Regions from separate parts of the Homo sapiens genome. Here all the other regions are linked to region 5. Evidence: promoter capture Hi-C in 16 types of primary human blood cells and fetal thymus (Javierre and others, 2016). All regions are on one chromosome and are shown on one strand. The core of a region is centred on a gene start or on the middle of the fragment in contact, and the rest is flanking DNA. Distances in the headings are between cores, read along the strand shown. Region 1 has its middle 6.2 kb from the start of PNMA8B. Region 2 has its middle 4.9 kb from the start of CCDC8. Region 3 has its middle 28 kb from the start of PNMA8B. Region 4 holds the start of PPP5C (protein phosphatase 5 catalytic subunit). Region 5 holds the start of IGFL4 (IGF like family member 4). Region 6 holds the start of HIF3A (hypoxia inducible factor 3 subunit alpha). Region 7 has its middle 16 kb from the start of PNMA8C.

Region 1 (2,744 bases), core at 36-2,535, 460 kb before region 5:
CCTCCCAGGTTCAAGCAATTCTCCTACCTCAGCCTCCCCAGTAGCTGGTATTACAGGCATGGGCCACCACAACTGACTAATTTTTCTCGTATTTTTTGTAGAGATGGGGTCTCCTTATGTTGTCCAGGCTGGTCTCGAACTCCTGGGCTCAGGCAATCCTCCTGTCTTGGTCTCCCAAAGTACTGGGATAACAGGTATGAGCCACCTTGCCTAGCCCTAAAAATAGATATATTTCCCAAAACAAAACAAAGTTAGTGAGAAGAGTGGCACTGTAGTATTTTGGTGTTTTTCAACTCACTTTGATATCTGGCTCAACAATCCTTGACCTGCCTCCTGGTTCAGTCAGCTGCAATACGGCACGGCATGTAGCCTCTGGAAAATTCCACTGAACACTGGTAAGAGAGTAAGAGTGAAAAGACAAATAATGGTTTAGTATTATGAAAATGGTTTTTATCTGATGGATGCCCTGGAATGTCCTTGCAACCCGTAGAGGTCCCCAGACCACACTTTGAGAACCCTTGCTCTGGCCGGGGGCGGTGGCTCACACCTGTAATCCCAGCACTTTGGGAGGCTGAGGCGGGCGGATCACGAGGTCAGGAGATTGAGATCATCCTGGCTAACACGGTGAAACCCCGTCTCTACTAAAAAAATTAAAAAATTAGCCGGATGTGGTGGCAGGCACCTGTAGTCCCAGCTACTTGGGAGGCTGAGGGAGGAGAATGGCGTGAACCCGGGAGGCGGAGCTTGCAGTGAGCTGAGATTGCGCCACTGCACTCCAGCCTGGGCAACAGAGTGAGACTCCGTCTCGAAAAAAAAAAAACGAAAACAAAGAAAGAGAACCCTTGCTCCAATAGCGCCATTTCCAGTTAAGCAGATTCACTTGTATTTTTCTCGAACACAAAATGAGGGGGAGAAGAATTTCGAACAATTTTTTCAAGCGATCCTCCCACCTCAGTCTCCTGAGTTGCTGGGACTCCAAGTGCATGCCATCAGGCCCAGCTAATTTTTGTATTTTTAGTAGAGACGGGGTTTCACCATGTTGTCCAGGCTGGTCTTGAACTCCTGGCCTCATGTGATCCACCCGCCTCGGTCTCCCAAAGTGCTGGGATTACAGGCGTGAGCCACCACGCCCGGCCTTGAACGCTTTACGCCCTTTCTTCCAGCTGTTTCCATTGGAACCTTACAGGCAGTGGCTTGGTCAGTCATAGGCTCATCTCTGCCTAAGAAGAGATCATGATTCCAGGGGAAATGCCCAGGGCGGGACTGGGCAGGACATGTTGGGGATCCTGATGTCCCTGCCTGGCTGGTCCCTGTAAGATCTTCTGTGCACAGGGCTTGGGGTTCATAGTCTATCCTTTTTTTTTTTTTTCTTTTTTTTTGAGACAGGGTCTTACTCTGTCATCCAGGCTGGAGTGCAGTGGCTCAGTCATGGCTCACTGCAGCCTCGACCTGGCAGGCCCAAGCAATCCTCCCACCTCAGCCTCCTGAGTAGCTGGGATTACAGGCACCTGCCAACATGACCAGCTAATTTTTCTTTTCTTTTTTTTTTTTTCAGACGGGAGTCTCACTCTGTTGCCCAGGCTGGAGTGCAGTGGCGCAATCTCGGCTCACTGCAAGCTCTGCCTCCCGGGTTCACACCATTCTCCTGCCTCAGCCTCCCAAGTGGCTGGGACTACAGGTGCCCACCACCACACCTGGCTAATTTTGCGTATTTTTAGTAGAGACGGGGTTTCACTGTGTTAGCCAGGATGGTCTTGATCTCCTGACCTCATGATCCACCCACTTCAGCCTCCCAAAGTGCTGGGATTACAGGCATGAGCCACCATGCCTGGCCATGACCAGCTAATTTTGGTATTTTTGGTAGAGATGGGGTTTCACCATGTTGGGCAGGCTGGTCTTGAACTCCTGGCCTCAAGTGATCTGCCTGCCTTAACCTCCCAAAGTGCTGGGATTACAGGTGTGAGCCACCACACACAGCCCAACATATGAATTTTATTTTATTTTATTTTATTTTATTTTATTTTATTTTATTTTATTTATTTATTTAGAGACAGTCATGCCTGTCACCCAGGCTGGAGTTCAGTGGTACAATCTCAGCTCACTGCAACCTCCGCCTTCCAGGTTCAAGCGGTTCTCCTGCCTCAGCCTCCTGAATAGCTGGGATTCCAGCCACTCACCATCACACCTGGCTAATTTTTGTATTTTTAGTAGAGATGGGGTTTCGCCATGTTGGCCAGGCTGGTCTCGAACTCCTGACCACAAGCAATCCACCTGCCTCAGCCTCCCAGAATGATGGGATTACACGCGTGAGCCACCACACCCAGGCTCCAACATATGAATTTTAAAGAGACATAATTCAGCCTCTGTACCTTTGGGTCCTCTTATAAACCAGACGCTCTCCTGGGGAGTCCCCTCTGCATTCCAGCGTGCCACCTCATCCTGTCCCACGGTGAGAATGAAATCTTTGTCCCAGTAACACTCAGGGCCAGGCACTGTTCCAACACACACACACACACACACACACACACACACACACACACACACATCCCGCTTAAATCCTCACAACCTCACGATAAACTGGGGCCACAGAGCCATGAAGAGACAAAGTGACTTGCTTGGTTATTGGGCAAATGTAAAAGACTAACCCGGATGGCACTTTGATCTTGGACTTCCAGACTCTGGAACTGGGAGAAAATAGATTTCTGTTATCTAAGCCATCCAGCCTGTGACACTGTTGAAAAATC
Region 2 (2,700 bases), core at 162-2,661, 380 kb before region 5:
CCTCTTTTTTCTAAACTTTTTTGAGACAGCGTCTCACTCTGTCACCCAGGCTGGGGTGTAGTGGTGCGATAATGGCTCACTGCAGCCTGGACATCCTATGCTCAGATGCTCCTCCCACCTCAGCCTCCCGAGTAGATGGGACTACAGGCTTGCACCACCACGTCCAGCTAATTTTTTGTACTATTTTTGTAGAGATGGGGTTTTGCTATGTTGCCCAGGCTGGTCTTGAACTCCTGGGCTCAAGCGATCCACCCCACTGAGTGTGGAGATTGGGGCCAGGCATGGTGGCTTCCATCTGTAATGCCAGCACTTTGGAAGGCTGAGGTAGGAGGATCACTTGAGCCCAGGAGTTCGAGATTAGCCTGGAAAATATGGCGAAACTCCAACTTTACAAAAAATTAGCTGGGCATGGTGACATGGGCCTGTAGTCCCAGCTACTTGGGAAGCTGAGATGGGAGGATAGCTTGAGCCCAGGAGGTCGAGGCTGAAGTGAGCAGAAATCGTATCACTGGGCGACAGAGCAAGACCCTGTCTCAAAACAAACAAACAAACAACAAACAAACAAACAAAAAGTGTGTGGAGATTGGAATCTAATAAACCTGAGTGATTCAAAGCTTGGCTCTGCCACTACCTAGCTGTGTGACTTTCCTTGGACTCAGTTTTTTTTTTTAATCTGAAAAATGGGAATAACATTTGCTTAAGGAAGGGTTCTAAGGACTGAATGAGAAAATGCACAGGGCCAAGGATAAAGTAGGTGCTCAGTAAAAATGAATTATTATCAGTATCACGTTCCTGGCTTGAAGGAATAAAGATGGAAGCTGTCGTGACAAACAAAAACAGACTGGCAAGCACTGATACAGAAGGACATTAAGTGAAAACACATTTTATAGTAATAAATCTAGTGCAATTCTCAGCATTCATTCAGTTAATAAATATTTGTAGCTCCTACCTGAAGTGTTCTAGATGCTGAGACTTCAGCAGTGAACAAACCAGACTCATATCCCAGACCTCATGGGGATAGTATTCTAATAGGGTGAAACAATAAATAAGTACATACAAATAGGCCCAGCGTGGTGCCTCTCGCCTGTAATCCCAGCACTTTGAGACCCAGAGGCAGGAGCATCAGTTGAGGCCAGGAGTTCAAGACCGGTCTGGGCAACATAATGAGAATACCTCTCTACAAAAAATTTTTAAAAATAGCCAGGCATGGTGGCACACACCTGTAGCCCCAGACACTCAGAAGGCTGAGGTGGGAGGATTGCTTGAGCCCAGGATTTCGAGGTTACAGTGAGCCATGATCATGCCACTGCACTTCAGCCTGGGTGACAGAGTGAGACCCTGTCTCAAAGAAAAAAAAAAACAAAAACAGAAAGTGGTAAGTGCTGTGATGAAAATAATTTAGGATGATGGGGGAAAAAAATCTCTGTGAGATAAATTCTAAAATTAACATAAAAAAAAAAGCCAGGTGAAGTGGCTCACGCCTGTAATCCCAGCACTTTGGGAGGCCAAGGTGGGTGGATCACCTGAGGTTCGAGATCGAGACCACCCTGATCAACATGGAGACATCCCGTCTCTACTAAAAATACAAAATTAGCTGGGTGGGTTGGCCTGTAATCCCAGCTGCTCTGGAGGCTGAGGCGGGAGAATTGCTTGAACGCGGGAGGTGGAGGTTGTGGTGAGTCGGAGATCGCGCCATTGCACTCTAGCCTGGGCAATAAGAGCAAAACTCCGTCTCAAAAAAAAAAAAATAAATTAATAAAATAAAATAAAATTAACACATACACTAATGCAAGCATTTTTTCTCTGGAAAAATACAGAGATATTTAACTGGTTACTTTTTGGGGAGAGGCTGGAAGGTGGGGTTTGGGGAGAAGAATCCTTTTTTGAAAAAAATTTACCTTTCTGTAACTTTTGCTTTTTCTGACCGTGTATCCTTTTTTGAGACAGGGTGTTACTCTGTTGCCCAAGCTGGAGTACAGTGGCACCACCTCAGCTCACTGCAACCTGTGCCTCCCAGGTTCAAGCGATTCTCCTGCCTCAGCCTCCCTAGTAGCTGAGATTACGGGCGCCTGCCATCGTGCCCAGCTAATTTTTGTACTTTTAGTAGAGACGGTGGGGTTTCATCATATTGGCCAGGCTGGTCTCGAACTCCTGACTTCAGGCGATCGCCCGCGTAGGCCTCCCAAATTGCTTGGATTACAAGCTTGAGCCACTGCCCCTGGCCCGCGTGTCCCATTTTTTTTTTAAATGGCAACAAAATGTAGCTGGGTAGAGGGATTTCAGCCGTGTTTTGTTTCTCTTCCCCATTCTTTTCCAACTTTCCATTTATTTTAAACAAATGCAAAAGTGAGGCTACAGTTCTCGTTTTTATTATTTTATTCTGTGATGGCTGGAGAAGGGTCTCACCTGCCAGAGATCTGTGCAATTAAAAACACCCACAGCTGAACCGTTCAGGGGCTGGCAATTTTTTTTTTTTTTGAGATGGAGTCTCGCTCTGTTGCCCAGGCTGGCGTGCAGATGGGCGATCTCCGCTTCCTGCAGCCCTGACCTCCCGGGCTCAAGCGATAGGCCCACCTCAGTCTCCCGAGTAGCTCAGACCACAGGCGCACACCATAATATTCGGCTAATTTTTAAATTTTTTGTGGAGACCGGAGTCTCGCTATGTTGCCCAGGCTGGTCTCCAATTCCTGGGCTCAAGCG
Region 3 (2,752 bases), core at 168-2,667, 480 kb before region 5:
AGGAGAAGGGCAGCCACAACAGCCAACACCAAACAGGAGTCGTGGTCATTATGGATTGGCAGTAATCCCTCCCAATATTCAGATACAATAAACTATCTCTACAAATAAAGCCACCAACCTTGGCTCACTTGTTCAGAAGATAGCACCGTTAGAGAAATCCAAGAAGCACCAACCCTCTCACTACACATGACACTGACTTCCTTTGGTGGACAGAGCTCCAATTCCTTGTATTGGTGTCTCTGATTTAGAAAAGGCTATTATGGGCCAGGCACAGTGGCTGACACCTGTAATCCCAGCACTTTGGGAGGCCGAGGCGGGTGGATCACTTGAGGTAAGGAGTTCAATGCCAGCCTGGCCAACATGGTGAAACTTCGTCTCTACTAAAAATACTAAAATTAGCTGGGTGTGGTGGTGCACACCTGTAGTCCTAGGTACTTGGGAGGCTGAGGCAGGAGAATTGCTTGAACCCAGGAAGGGGAGGTTGCAGTGGTCCAAGATCATGCCACTGCACTCCTGCACTCCAGCCTGGGCAAGAGAGCAAGACTCCATATCAAAAAACAAAAACAGAAACAGAAAAAGAAAAAGAAGGAAGGAAGGAAGGGGCTATTATAAATGCTCTAAAACTTTAGAAAAAAACTTCAATGACACTGTTAATTTCCTCCAAGGCTTACAAACCGAGGTTTCTAGCCTTGCTTCAATAATTTCACAAAATGTATGAGTCTGAGCTACTCTAACTGCCCAAAAAGGAGGTATAATGAATGAAGCTGTCATTTCTGTGTTAATATATCAAGAATTTTTGCCCACACTTCAGAGGATTTTAAAGAACAGATGTAAATCTTATCAGATAGGTGATACTTTTTCCATTTATTTATTTAGTTGGTTACATCTTGGCTCCTGGGAATCTCTCCTCTGGTGAATTTTCCAACCCTTGGCTATATTATTCTCCTCCTAGTCATGATATTAACCTCCCTGGGAGTTGCATCCTCTTAAGGGTTTCCAATGCCTCTCAACAGCCACTGATGCAACTAATGACACCCATCTGCATTAGACAACTTGGAGAACCTAAGGACTCTACCACATATGTCTAAGATGACTATGCAGCTATCAAAAATGACTATACACCCATCTGTCCCAGCCAATAGCACTCCCAGAAAGTAATGCTATACGATTTCATTACCCCCTCAGCTTGCTATGTCAAAAGGGGAAAGTTGTTAAAATAAAATGGGGGGAGCCAGGCGCAGTGGCTCACACCTGTAATCTCAACACTTTGGGAGGCCAAATTGGGAGGATCCTTGAGCCCAGGAGTTTGAGACCAGCCTGGGCAACATGGCAAGACTCCATCTCTATAAAAGTAAAAAAAAAAAAATTAGCTGCACAAAGTGGTGCATGCCTGTGGTCCCAGCTACTTGCGAGGCTGAGGCAACAGGATCACCTGAGCACAGGAGGTTAAGGCTACAGTGAGCTGCGATCGTGCCATTCACTCCAGCCTGGGCAACCGAGCGAGACCCTGTTTCACACACACACACACAAAACTAGGGGGGGTGGATCCGGACTGAGAATTCCCCAAGAAGACAAAATCAGGCCACATAAGCAAAACCTAAGGTACTCTGACTTTTGAATGTAAGCGAAACTCAACTTAGATCTCGATCTCTCTCTCAATCTCTCTCCCTTGTTTTTTTTTTTTTTTTCTGAGATGGAGTCTGGCTCTGTCGCCCAGGCTGGAGTTCAGTGGTGCGATCTCGGCTCACTGCAAGTTCCGCCTTCTGGGTTCACGCCATTCTCCTGCTTCAGCCTCCCGAGTAGCTGGAACTACAGGCGCCCGCCACCTAATTTTTTGTATATTTAATAGAGACGGGGTTTCACCATGTTAGCCAGGATGGTCTCAATCTCCTGACCTCGTGATCCGCCCACCTTGGCCTCCCAAAGTGCTGGGATTACAGGCGTGAGCCACCACGCCCGGCTATCTCTCTCCCTTTCTTTCCTTTCTCCTTTCCTTTCTCTCTTTCTTTCTTTCTTTCTTTCTTTCATGGAATCTTGCTCTGTGACCCAGGCTGGAGTATAGTGGCATGATCTCTGCTCACTGCAGCCTCCATCTCCGGGGTTCAAGCAATTCTTGTGCTTCAGCCTGCCAAGTAGCTGGGATTACAGGCACGCACCACCACGCCCTGCTAATTTTTGTATTTTGTATTTTTTTTTTTTTAGTAGAGACGGGGTTTCACCATGTTGCTCAGGCTGGTCTCAAACTCCTGACCTCAAGTGATCTGTCTGCCTCAGTCTCCCAAAGTGCTGGGATTACAGGGGTGAGCCACCGCACCCAGCCAGCTTAGGTTATTTCTTACAAATGCCTCTGATAATCATAAACGAAACTTAAGTTGCCTTCCCCAAATGATATAAGAGGATTGCTTTTAACCAGTCCCGTGCAATCTGGAAACCTCCACTGTATAGACAGTCACTGTAAAGGTTAAACCACTTCCTGATTTTTGCTTTCTCAGCCATCCTGTAACAACATGCCTCTGAGCTTCTTACTACCTGGGTTGAGGTCTCCTGGATTGTGCCCTGTCCCCACTTTTTTTTAATGACAACAAACTTTTAAATATTTATTCATTGGATCTGATTTTGTTTTGGACACTGGCATGCAAAGGGGAGGGAGATGGTCATAGGACTGTTGTCAACGTTCAAAAGCAAAACAGGATTTATATGAGAAAGGTAAGAGAAGGGAGAGAAAACTTCATACTGAAGTCTGGGTGCCCTG
Region 4 (2,766 bases), core at 227-2,726, 310 kb before region 5:
ATGGGCGGATCACCTGCGGTCAGAGGTTCGACACCAGCCTGGCCAACATGGCGAAACCCCATCTCTACTAAAAGTACAAAAATTATCTGGGCATGGTGGTGTGCGTCTATAATCCCAGCTACTCGGGAGGCTGAGGCAGGAGAATCGCTTGAACCAGGGAGGCGGAGGTTGCAGTGAGCCGAGATTGCGCCATTGCACTCTAGCCTGGGCAAAAAGAGCAAAACTCCCGTCTCAAAAAAAAAAAAAAAAAAAAAATTCCAAACTGGTCTTTGTAATGACTCACGGAGACCCTGCATGATCTGGCCTCTGTCCTAATCTCATCTTGTTATTGGTCTCCCCCTAAGTAGCCAAAGCCCCAGCCATGCCAGTACCCTTTCATTCCCCATCCCAGGGCCTTTGCACAGGCTGCTTTACCTCCCTGGAACACTCCTCTCCAGTTCTCCCTCTGTGAGTTTCAGCTTAAACGCCTCCTGCTCAGTAAGGCCTTCCCCCACTACCCTATCTAAAGTAGCCTCCAACCCTTATTCTCTACTTCATCACACTGCTGGTTTGCTTTCAAAGCACTCATCACAATTTAAGTATTTTACTTATTTACATGGTTTTTTTTTGTTTTTTTTTTTTTCATGTCTGGTTCACCTGCAAAATTACAAGCTAAGGACAGGGCCACATCTGTCTCATTCACTGCTATATCCCCAAAGTCAAGCACAGTCCTTGGCACATAACAGGTACTCAATAAATATTTGTTGAATTAATGAATGAATGGGTGCCCCACACTTGACTCTCAATATTCTAAGTGATACTATTCTTAAGGATCCCCACCCTTACTCCCAAGGCCCCCACCATCACATTCCTTTTCCTCGGGTCAGCCCAAATCTCCTACTTCCTTGTTCCCCCCATCTAATGATCCATTCCCCACCCCCACGATTGCCTTCTCTATTGGGGCTGTGCCCCCTCTACCCCCCACTTGGCGGCACCCACCCCAGGACTCCCCATTTGGTAGCGCCATCAATCACTCCCCCACCACATGTCACTGCCTGGTAGCGCCCTCTACAGGCCTCACGTTTGGTAGCGCCCTCATTCCAGTCCCCCTCTCGCCCCACAATTGGTGGCGCCCTCCTCAGTCTCTCCACTGAGTAGCACCCGCTCCGCACGCCACTCCTAGGTATCACTCTCCGAAGCCCCCTATGTCGCTCCTTGGCAGCGCCATCCTGGGCCTCCCCACGCCCGGTCACTTGGTAGTGTCTGCCCCGCGCCCAGGCTGCAGCTCCGCGTTGCTATGGTTCCGCGCGGGCCCGGCACCCCTCAGCCTGGGCCACTGTCCACCCTCCCTGCCAGGCGGGCGCACCTTTGAAGTAGTCATTGGCCTGAGTCTTGAGCTCCTCTGCCCGCTTCAGAGCTCCATCAGCCGGGGGTTCGTCCCGGGGGGGCTCAGCACACTCAGTCCTCTCGCCCTCCGCCATCGCCATGCCGCAAAGCGACCCCTACCCTGGCAACGGCCGCCAGCGGCACCCGGCCGAACCGTCGCGAAGGAGCGCCGGGTGGCCGCCGCCGCTGCCGCACAAGTGTCGTAAAGCGCGGGCCCTGAAGGCGCCCTTCACGCGCCTGCGCAGGTCCCTTTCGCCACAGAGCGCGCGGAGGACAAGGTGACCAGAGGTTCCCCAGACGGTACCCCTGGTAGAGAGAGCCAATAGGGAATGAGAGAAGGGGCGCGCGGGGAAACAGACCTGGTGTGGCCTCTCCTCCCAAAGTTACCGTGTTCCAAGGCTGTAAAAAGTTTCTCGGTTCTGAAAGTGGGATTTCCCCGCTGTCCTCTAGGGTTGGGGGGTGGGTTGTGAATGTCGCTGGCGGGTGTGGCTGTTTTGCAAGGCAGCGCCATGCCCTACGCGGAGCCGGACCCGGGCGTCGAGCCCTATTGTCGACTACCTGTGTGACCTTGAACAAATCTTCCCTTCCTCTCTAGGGTCTCAGTTACCCATCTCTGAAAAATTAGTGGTTTCTCAAGCCAAAAAGGGTCCAACCTTGAGGGTCAGTGTTTGAGTTTTTAACTGAAGGCACTCTGGATTTCAAGTCCTGAGCAAGGCTTAGAAGTGTGTTGCACCATCTCCTTTCTTCCTGTGTTCAGCTTCCCAAATCCTGAATCTTCAAATAAACTCTCCTGTTTGTGTTTTTACAGATTCTCTTGTCTGAGATCACAGCATTGATTGCATGCACTCTGCCTCCCTCCAGTTTACCCTTCACATTTTTTTTTTTTTTTTTTTTTTTTTGAGAGGGAGTCTCCCTCTGTCGCCCAGGCTGGAGTGCAGTGGCGCCATCTAGGCTCACTGCAACCTCCGCCTCCCGGTTTAAGCGATTCTTCTGCCTCAGCCTCCCAAGTAGCTGGGATTACAGGCGCCCGCCACCATGCCCGGCTAATTTTTGTATTTTAGTAGAAACGGGTTTCACCACGTTGGCCAGGCTGGCCTCGAACTGCCGACCTCAAGCTATCCGCCCGCCTCGGCCTCCCAAAGTGCTGGGATTACAGGCGTGAGCCACCGTGCCCGGCCGAGGGATCTTTCTAAGACATGATAAAACCATGGCACACTCTCGCTCCCAGGCTTCCATGGCCCCAGCACCCTTAGGAGAAAACCCAAACTCCTGATTAGGAGACCCTGAATAGTCTTAACCTCAGGCTGAATAGTCTAATATCCAGATTCCACCCCTTTGCCAATCCCCACCCGCCGTACACGCTTCCAGTCTGTCCTTTCTAAGCCCTCATGTAGCACTAAG
Region 5 (2,700 bases), core at 162-2,661:
TATAATGCGGTATTCACACTACTTAACTTGATAAACAGGAATGTAGTTCTTATAGGTCTGTTTCCGCAGCAGCTGTTCTGTGTAGGTGAGAGAATGTGTCTTTACAGGTGGGATTTCTGTTTGGATGTGTGGGAAAGGAGAAGGCATATTGATAAGCAGACAAACAGACATATCTATGCAAATACGCAACTGCAGAAATAGGCGAGGAGAGCTAGTTTATTGCATGAAATCAATACCGAAGACTTGGACATCCAGTCAAGAAAGGAGAGGCCAGGCTGGAGTGCAAATAAGCACAACAACAACAAAATCAATGCACTTTGGGAGGCTGGGGCAGGTGGATTGCTTGAGCTCAGGATTCCAAGACCAGAACATTGTAGGACCCTAACTCTATGAAAAATACAAAAAAATTAGCCAGGCCAGGAGGTGCCTGCCTGTAGTCCCAGCTACTCAAGAGGCTGAGGTGGGAGGATGGCTTCAACTTGGGGGGCAAAGGTTACAGTGAGCAAAGATAGCACCACTGCCCTCCAGCCTGGGAGACAGAGAGATACGGTGTCTCAAAAAAAAAAAAAAAAAAAGAGAGAGAGGAGGGAGGAGGAAGAGACTCTAGAGAGTCTATACTAACAATGCACTTTTACAAAGCTCTAATACCTGTGCCTTATCCTTCTTTCACCCTCCCACCCTTCTCACTGTGACACAGGGAAGAAACCAGTGGAAAATGGAGGGGCATGCTCTAAAAATACGCCACATGTAATCCCATCACACAGTGAGACACACAGGAGCATTTTCTTGGACAAGGCACTCCACAAACCAAAAAAAAAAAAAAGGTGCTGCTTTCCTATCTGGAATCCCAGAGATCCATCCTACCACCGCCTATTTTTGTTGTTGTTGTTCTCCCTGGCACAGTTTTGCAGCCCCTGCTGTTCTTCTAGATTATGCTGCAACTTCACAAATTCTCCTACGTGACTCTGAAAAATTATAGACAGTGCAGGTCTGCAGGTGAACTGAGACGGGGAGTAGAGGGACTCCTTGAAACTTCAGGGTGGAGGAATATGGGGAGCCTAGAGACAGCCGGTGTTTGGTGAGTAATTTGATCTTAGATAAGCAAGAGTTAAGGAATATCTTCCAAGTGGTTTTCCCTTGGGCGGTGTTCAAAGAAAGACACTCAGCAGAGTCAAAGCTTAGATAGGTTCCTGGGTAGCCTTTACCCTGAGGATCTGAAGGGTCTGAGGAGGCAGCAACCACTTGGAACAGGTCCAGAAGCATCTCATTAAGCTTTTGATGAATTATTTATGTTCCCTGCAGCTCTTTTTGCCTAACTCTTCCCAAGAAACCACTCCTTCTGCACACCTCCCTAAATGGCGGTAAGTTCATATCCTATATAAGCCCCTATGTAAAGTCACTGACCCATTTCCACTGCTGCTCCCTCGTCCGCTGCTCTGAAGCCTAACCCATGGTGCCCAGAATTTCTGGTAAGGAGACCCCAGCCCTAGGCTAAGCTAATCCCTAATGATATCACATCCCTAATTATTTCTGAACTTCAAAGTTAATTCTCTCTTCCCTATTTAATTATTGGTGTCCCACCTCATAATCACTGCTATGTCATCTGTGACTGCATTGTAATCTGTCTCCTGAACTGCAAATTCCAGAAGCTTAACTTTTCCCAGAGCCCTCCCTGCCTTTCCTCACCTGCCAAGCCCAGTCCCCAGGACCTGCACCCACAGCCAGTCCCAAAATCCACTCTGAGCTGTTAACAGCAACCAGAGAAGCTCAGAGACATCATCCTGTGCCCCGTGGTCAAGACCTAGTGACCTCAGAATCATTCTCGCTCTCCTTCTGCTTCTCAGCTGCCATCTTCATTTTTGAACTTTTGGGTTCAAACTCAGAAGGAGTCACAGGTGAGAACAGATGCAGTGAGGGAGGAGAGAACAGCATTAAGGTTGGTGGGGAGGTGGTCCTAGGCTGGTCCTTGCAGCCCATCCAGCCCCGACTCTTCCAGATCTTAGACTGTGGCTATGCCAGCCAGCGCCCAGGTGCGGGGAGTGGACCTACAACCCCTTGGAGCAGTGCTGTGATGACGGTGTCATCCTAGACTTGAACCAGACCCGGCTCTGCGGCTCCAGCTGCACCTTCTGGCCCTGCTTCCAGCACTGCTGCCTGGAGTCTTTGGGCTCTCAGAACCAGACAGTTGTGAGGTTCAAGGTCCCAGGCATGAAGCCAGATTGCAAGTCCTCCCCTATCACCAGGATCTGTGCCCAGGTAAGGATCTGACTCCAGTCCAGGCTGTGGGAGGGGGGAGTAGGGAATGGAGCTTGGTTGTCCATGTCCCACCCAGATGTGCAGTCTCTGCTGGGTTCCATACCTTCCCATCTCTCAGTAACCATGCAACTCTGTCTTTCTCCATGTCTCTGTTCCTTCCCCGCCACTGCTGCTACCACCCTCCCTCTTATTCCCCTCTCCCACTTCTCTCCTTCTGCAGGAATACCACCCAAAAAGCCCTGTGTCAAGATCTGACCTCATCTAGACTGTTCTGGGGTAGCAGAGTCACAGATCACTCTAGAATCTAATACTTGGTAATTATACTGCATTGATTTTGTTGTTGTTGTGACAGAGTTTCACTCTGTCCCCCAGGCTGGAGTGCAAATAAGCAACTTCAGCAAAGTCTCAGGATACAAAATCAATGTACAAAAATCACAAGCATTC
Region 6 (2,700 bases), core at 74-2,573, 260 kb before region 5:
GCACCCGAGCTCAGCCAAGAGGGGCCCCCACCCAGCCAGGAGGGGGCGCTGAGAGGGGCGGAACGACAGCTGGCCCAAAAGGGGTGGGATAGAGTTCCTTGTTAGGCCCAGAGCCAGGGCCTGGAATAGAGTAGGGGACAGGGGAGAGGATGGGGGCGGTTAGAAACATGGGGTGTGCATGGATCCAATCAGGCCTGAGAAGCCAGGGAGGAGGGAAGGGGGTGAGGCTTACTGGGTGCCTCACATTGGACAGGGAAAGCTGAGGACCTAGAACATTTTCCAGGGTCCCATGGGAACATGGCCAGATAAAACCCCCCGGCAGCGGCCCCAGGGCACAGGTTCCCCTGTGTTCCAGCAGAGCTGCACCTGCTGGGCAAGTGAACCCAGAAACCCACCCTCTGCCCGGGATGACCCCATCTGAGTACTGCGGCAGGGGGCGTTCCCATCACAGCCTGCAGGCTCACAGCACCCTGCCATGGAGTCTCCCCAAAATAAAGCTTGGATGAGGCTCCCCTGTCTCTCAGGATGGGGGTGCAGGGGTGAGATGAGGGGCTGGACTTTGGGAAGTGGGTCCAGCTTGTTTCCCTGTTATTTAAGGGGGTGACTCTGGCTTTTGAAAGGATACAAAAAGTCTCTTGGGAAGGGTCCCAGACGGCTTCTGAAAGGGGCTCCCCTCTGCCCATTTCTAGGGAAACCCAATGTTTAGGAGACTGTGTCAGGAAGCATACTATTAGAGGAGATCTCTCCTCTCTTGAACTCAGGAGCTGAATGCCATTCCAAGGGACTCCCTATATGTGGGAAGGCTCCATTTAGGGGTATCCCATATCACCTAGGATCCCAGGCACCTGGTGGCAAAGAATACCCTCAATTTTGGGGGGTTCAGAGGCCAGAGGGATCAATATGTGGAGGGCGAATATCTCCCGCAGAAGCCTGGGGACTGCTCAAATGCAATCACCCCTAATTTATCAGGAATCCCAAGTTCCACCCCCAACCAGGAGGGTAAATGAGCCTTGGGTAGCGAGAAATCGGGAACCCCGAAGCCGCTCTTGGCCAGAGGGGCGGGGCAGCCAGAGACGTAGGGAATCCCCCACCCCTGCAGTCCCTAAGGGTGGAGAGTGCGGTGGGGATGTGCCTCCAACTGCGCGCCCCGGGGCGTTCTTGGCTCGCACCCGCGAACCCCACCCCCCCCAACAATCCAGCTCAGGGGTCTCCAGGAGGAGAGCCCCCCAATTCCCAGAACTCCTGCCCCCGAACTTCAGTACCTTGCGCGCTGCAGCCCCAGCGCCATGGCTCGCCAGTCGCCGCTCCGGAGCCCTCGGAGGCCCCTAGCCCCCTCCCCGGCCTTGCGAGCCCCCTCCCCAGCTCCTCCCCACGCCGCGCGGTTGGCTGTGCCACGCCAGGCCTGAGGCTCTGATTGGGCAACGGTATGTCACTCCTGAAAAGGAGGCGGAACCAGAGGGAAAGACTTGGAAAGGCAAGGGGGGGATACCGTGTAATACACACCCCCCAACCACGCCCCTCGCCGCGGACTTCCTCGGCAGTGTATCCCGCACCGTCGGCTGAACGCGCCTTCTCTAGTCCAGCCTCTGAAGTGCCAACGCCAGTACTCTTCTGAACCCACTCAGTTCACTCTGCTCTCTGGACCCCAGTCCCCAGCCTCTAACCCCCACCTCTTCTCACCTTTCCATTTCCTAACCCCAGTTGAGCCCCTCTGACCTCCAATCCCACCCCTTCCAAACCCCTAGCCCTGCCTTCTCTATCCCTTCTAAGGTATTCACAGAGTACCCCACATCTCCTCCCCACCCCCCAACTCCCAACCCCACCCCAGTTCCACAATCCTTGGCCCTCTGGCACCTACCCTTCTCTCTCTCTCCCCAGCCCCTCCCTGCCACCCCAGTCCCATACCCCACTTCGCCCCCATTCCTCCAGTCTGCACCCTCTGCACCCCAGCTTACCTTCCCTACCCCCTCTACTCCACCCTAACCTCTTGGCCTCTCTGACTCCCTTTTCAGGTTCCCATTGATGAATAATTAAGCTTATGTCAAGTAAATATGTTTTAACTCAATCACACCTACTTCAAAAAAGAGCCGAGAAATGTATTTTTTTTTAACTAGTCGACTATGAAGGGAGAAGTACAAAGGTACCAAGCAAGGGTGAAAGCATTACAGTTGGATAAGGAACAGAGTGTGTGTGTGTGTGTGTGTGTGTGTGTGTGTTGGACCACTATTCTGGATTTGGTTGGCAGGGAAGAGGATACTACAGCAGAAGTGGCCTTGTTGAACCTTGAACTTGCCAGGCAAGTTGCTCACCTTAGGGCCTTTGCACTTGCTGTTCCCACAGCTTAGCACACTCTTCCTCCAGGAATCCACACGGCTCCCCGGCTCACGCCAGTTCCCCACTCTGTTTTCTTTTGGGAAACCACTTCTCTGTCCTCTTCATCTATTTAATTTGAATAGGGCTTGGCCACTGCTCTGCCTTCACCAGCTCCAGGGATGGACATAGGATCCAAACCTGGCTAATCAGTTGAGTCTGCTTCCCTGGCCACAGTGATTGGTTCAGGGAAGGCATGTTACCTAATTTAGCCCAATGAGAATCAACCCTGAGACATTTGCTGAAACCATTAGGAAAGAGGATTTTCTATGTCTGCTGGAATTGCTGGGCAGATGGAGCAGATGGGGCTCACACTGCCACAAAGAGAGG
Region 7 (2,700 bases), core at 155-2,654, 400 kb before region 5:
CTCCAACTTGCGGCCCGTGGGCTGCATGCGGCCCAGGATGGCTCTGAAGGTGGCCCAACACAAATTCGTAAACTTTCTTAGAACATTATGAGATTTTGGCCGGGTGCGGTGGCAACGCCTATAATCCCAGCACTTTCGGAGGCTGAGGCGAGCGGATCACCTGAGGTCGGGAGTTCGAGACCAGCCTGACCAACATGGAGAAACCCTGTTTCTACTAAAAATACAAAATTAGCCGGGTGTGGTGGTGCATGCCTATAATCCCAGCTACTTGGGAGGCTGAGGAAGGAGAATCACTTGAACCCAGAGGTGGAGGTTGCAGTGAGCCGAGACTGGGCCATTGCACTCCAGCCTGGGCAACAAGAGCGAAACTCCGTCTCGAAAACAAAAAACAACAACAACAACAAAAAATGAGATTTTTTTTTTTTGCGATTTTTTTTTTTTTTTAGCTCATCAGCTATTGTTAGTGTTAGCGTATTTTATGTGTTGCCCAAGACAATTCTTCTTCCAGTGTGGCCCAGGGAAGCCAAAAGATTGGACACCTCTGGCCTAAATGAGCTCATCTAGCTCCATGGCTTAAGATATTTCCCGTGTGCCAATGGCTTCTAAATTTTTATCTCCACCCCATCTCTGAACTCCAGGCTCATATATCTAACTCGGCTTGGAAGCCTACAAGGCATATCAAATTTAAGACATTCAAAATGGGATTCCCCACTCCCAAGTTCATTTTCCCTAGAGCTTCCTCATCTCACTGAATGGACGCACCATCATTCTAACAGTTCAAGCCCAAAGCTGAGTCAATTAAAAAAAACAAAAAACAACAACAACAAAAAAGCCGGGCGCGGTGGCTCACGCCTGTAATCCCAGCACTTTGGGAGGCTGAGACAGGTGGATCACCTGGGGTCGGGAGTTTGAGACCAGCATGACCAACATGGTGAAACCCCATCTCTACTAAAAACACAAAATTAGCCGGGCATGGTGGTGCGTGCCTGTAATCCCAGCTACTCGGGAGGCTGAGGCAGGAGAATCGCTTGAACCTGGGGTGGCGTAGGTTGCAGTGAGCCGAGATCGTGCCATTGCACCCCAGCCTGGGCAACAAGAGGGAAACTCCGTCTGAAAAAAAAAAAAGTTTTGTATTGAGGTGAAATTCACATAATATAAAATGAACCATTTAGAAATAATATAAAATGAACCATTTAGAGTGTACACAGCTGGGCAAGGTGGTTCACGTCACCAGCACTTTGTAATTCCAGCACTTTGGGAGGCCAAGGCAGGAGGATCACTTGAGCCCAGGAGTTCAAGACCAGCTGGGGCAACATGGTGGGACCCCGTCTCTACAAAAACTTTAAAAATTAAGGACCAGGAGAGGTGGCTCACGCCTGTAATCCCAGCACTTTGGGAGGCCGAGGTGGGCAGATCATGAGGTCAGGAGATTGAGACCATCCCCGCTAACACGGTGAAACTCCGTCTCTACTAAAACTACAAAAAAAAAATTAGCCGGGCGTGGTGGCGGGCACCTGTAGTCCCAGCTACTCGGGAGGCTGAGGCAGGAGAATGGTGTGAACCCGGGAGGTGGAGCTTGCAGTGAGCCGGAGATGGCGCCACTGCACTCCAGCCTGGGTGACAGAGCGAGACTCCATCTCAAACAAACAAACAAACAAAAAAAACACCAAAGGGCTGAGTGTGGTGGTTCATGCCTGTAATCCCAACACTTTGGAAGGCTGAGGCAGGAAGATCGCTTGAGCCAAGGAGTTTGAGATCAGCCTGGGCGACATGGCAAAACCCTGTCTCTACTAAAAATACAAATATACAAAAAAAAAAATTAGCTGGGTGAGGTGGTGTGTCTCTGTAGTCCCAGCCACTCACAAGGCTGAGGTGGCCACGAGAATCACCCAAGCCTAGGAGGTCGAGGCTGCACTGAGCCATGATCATGCCACAGCACTCCAGCCTGGGTGACAGGAGTGAGACCCTGTCTCTAAATAAATACATAAACCACCAAAGGTTTGAACGTGGCTGCATAGTCTTTGGGTAACCTACCCTCACCTGAATTTTCCCAAAAGGCTCATTTAATTCTAACATGCTACTGACCAGGCACAGTGGCTCACGCCTGTAATCCCAGTATTTTGGGAGGCCGAAGTGGGCAGATTACTTGAGGTCAAGAGTTTTGAGACCAGCCTGGCCAGCATGGTGAAACCCCGTGTCTACTACAAATACAAAAATTAGCCAGGTGTGGTGGCACACACCTGTAATCCCAGCTACTGGGGAGGCTGAGGCAGAAGAATCGCTTGAACCTGGGAGGCAGAGGTTGCAGTGAGCTGAGATCACGCCGCTGCACTCCAGCCTGTGCAATAGAGCGAGGCTCCGTCTCAAAAACAAAAAACAGGCTGGGCGCGGTGGCTCTCACCTGTAATCCCAGCACTTTGGGAGGCCGAGGTGGGCAGATCACGAGGTCAGGAGATTGAGACCATCCTGGCTAACACAGTGAAACCCTGTCTCTACTAAAAATACAAAAAATTAGCTGGGCATGGTGGTGGGTGCCTGTAGTCTCAGCTATTTGGGAGGCTGAGGCAGGAGAATGGCCAGAACCCAGGAGGCGGAGCTTGCAGTGAGCCGAGATCTTGCCACTGCATTCCAGCCTGGGCGACAGAGCGAGACTTCGTCTCAAAAAAAAAAAAAAAAAACAAAAGAACAACAAAAAACAAA

Evidence for each region. Contacts are between HindIII fragments. The CHiCAGO score rates a contact against its expected background, and 5 or more counts as called.
Region 1: a fragment that was not itself captured here is called in contact with the fragment with the promoter of IGFL4 in region 5 in 1 of 17 cell types (M2 macrophages); the score reaches 5.1 in M2 macrophages.
Region 2: a fragment that was not itself captured here is called in contact with the fragment with the promoter of IGFL4 in region 5 in 2 of 17 cell types (M1 macrophages and M0 macrophages); the score reaches 5.3 in M1 macrophages.
Region 3: a contact is called between a fragment that was not itself captured here and the fragment with the promoter of IGFL4 in region 5, in 1 of 17 cell types (endothelial precursors). The highest score is 5.0, in endothelial precursors.
Region 4: a contact is called between the fragment with the promoter of PPP5C here and the fragment with the promoter of IGFL4 in region 5, in 16 of 17 cell types (M1 macrophages, erythroblasts, total CD4 T cells and 13 more). The highest score is 20.2, in M1 macrophages.
Region 6: the fragment with the promoter of HIF3A here is called in contact with the fragment with the promoter of IGFL4 in region 5 in 4 of 17 cell types (M2 macrophages, M1 macrophages, total CD8 T cells and 1 more); the score reaches 8.8 in M2 macrophages.
Region 7: a contact is called between a fragment that was not itself captured here and the fragment with the promoter of IGFL4 in region 5, in 1 of 17 cell types (M1 macrophages). The highest score is 5.5, in M1 macrophages.

The regions. Positions count from the first base shown.
Region 1 is chr19:46,500,699-46,503,442 of GRCh38, reverse strand. No RefSeq gene overlaps it. Among named protein-coding and RNA genes, the nearest start is that of PNMA8B, 6.2 kb to the right of the region's middle. The HindIII fragment of the contact is 5,709 bases long and covers 1-2,744 here.
Region 2 is chr19:46,417,145-46,419,844 of GRCh38, reverse strand. No RefSeq gene overlaps it. Among named protein-coding and RNA genes, the nearest start is that of CCDC8, 4.9 kb to the right of the region's middle. The HindIII fragment of the contact is 1,589 bases long and covers 617-2,205 here.
Region 3 is chr19:46,522,826-46,525,577 of GRCh38, reverse strand. It overlaps the pseudogene PPP5D1P. Among named protein-coding and RNA genes, the nearest start is that of PNMA8B, 28 kb to the right of the region's middle. The HindIII fragment of the contact is 3,185 bases long and covers 1-2,752 here.
Region 4 is chr19:46,345,797-46,348,562 of GRCh38, reverse strand. It overlaps PPP5C (protein phosphatase 5 catalytic subunit), which reads right to left and starts at 1,476. Exons shown (of 13, transcript NM_006247.4): 1 at 1,346-1,476. The coding sequence starts at 1,466. RefSeq lists enhancers at 1,229-1,358, 1,459-1,638. The HindIII fragment of the contact is 16,758 bases long and covers 1-2,766 here.
Region 5 is chr19:46,039,713-46,042,412 of GRCh38, reverse strand. It overlaps IGFL4 (IGF like family member 4), which reads left to right and starts at 1,411. Exons shown (of 4, transcript NM_001002923.3): 1 at 1,411-1,469; 2 at 1,845-1,895; 3 at 1,997-2,256; 4 at 2,477-2,700. The coding sequence starts at 1,451. The coding sequence ends at 2,521. The HindIII fragment of the contact is 377 bases long and covers 1,275-1,651 here.
Region 6 is chr19:46,295,665-46,298,364 of GRCh38, reverse strand. It overlaps HIF3A (hypoxia inducible factor 3 subunit alpha), which reads right to left and starts at 1,323. Exons shown (of 15, transcript NM_152795.4): 1 at 1,263-1,323. The coding sequence starts at 1,288. The HindIII fragment of the contact is 1,538 bases long and covers 500-2,037 here.
Region 7 is chr19:46,443,528-46,446,227 of GRCh38, reverse strand. No RefSeq gene overlaps it. Among named protein-coding and RNA genes, the nearest start is that of PNMA8C, 16 kb to the right of the region's middle. The HindIII fragment of the contact is 2,810 bases long and covers 1-2,700 here.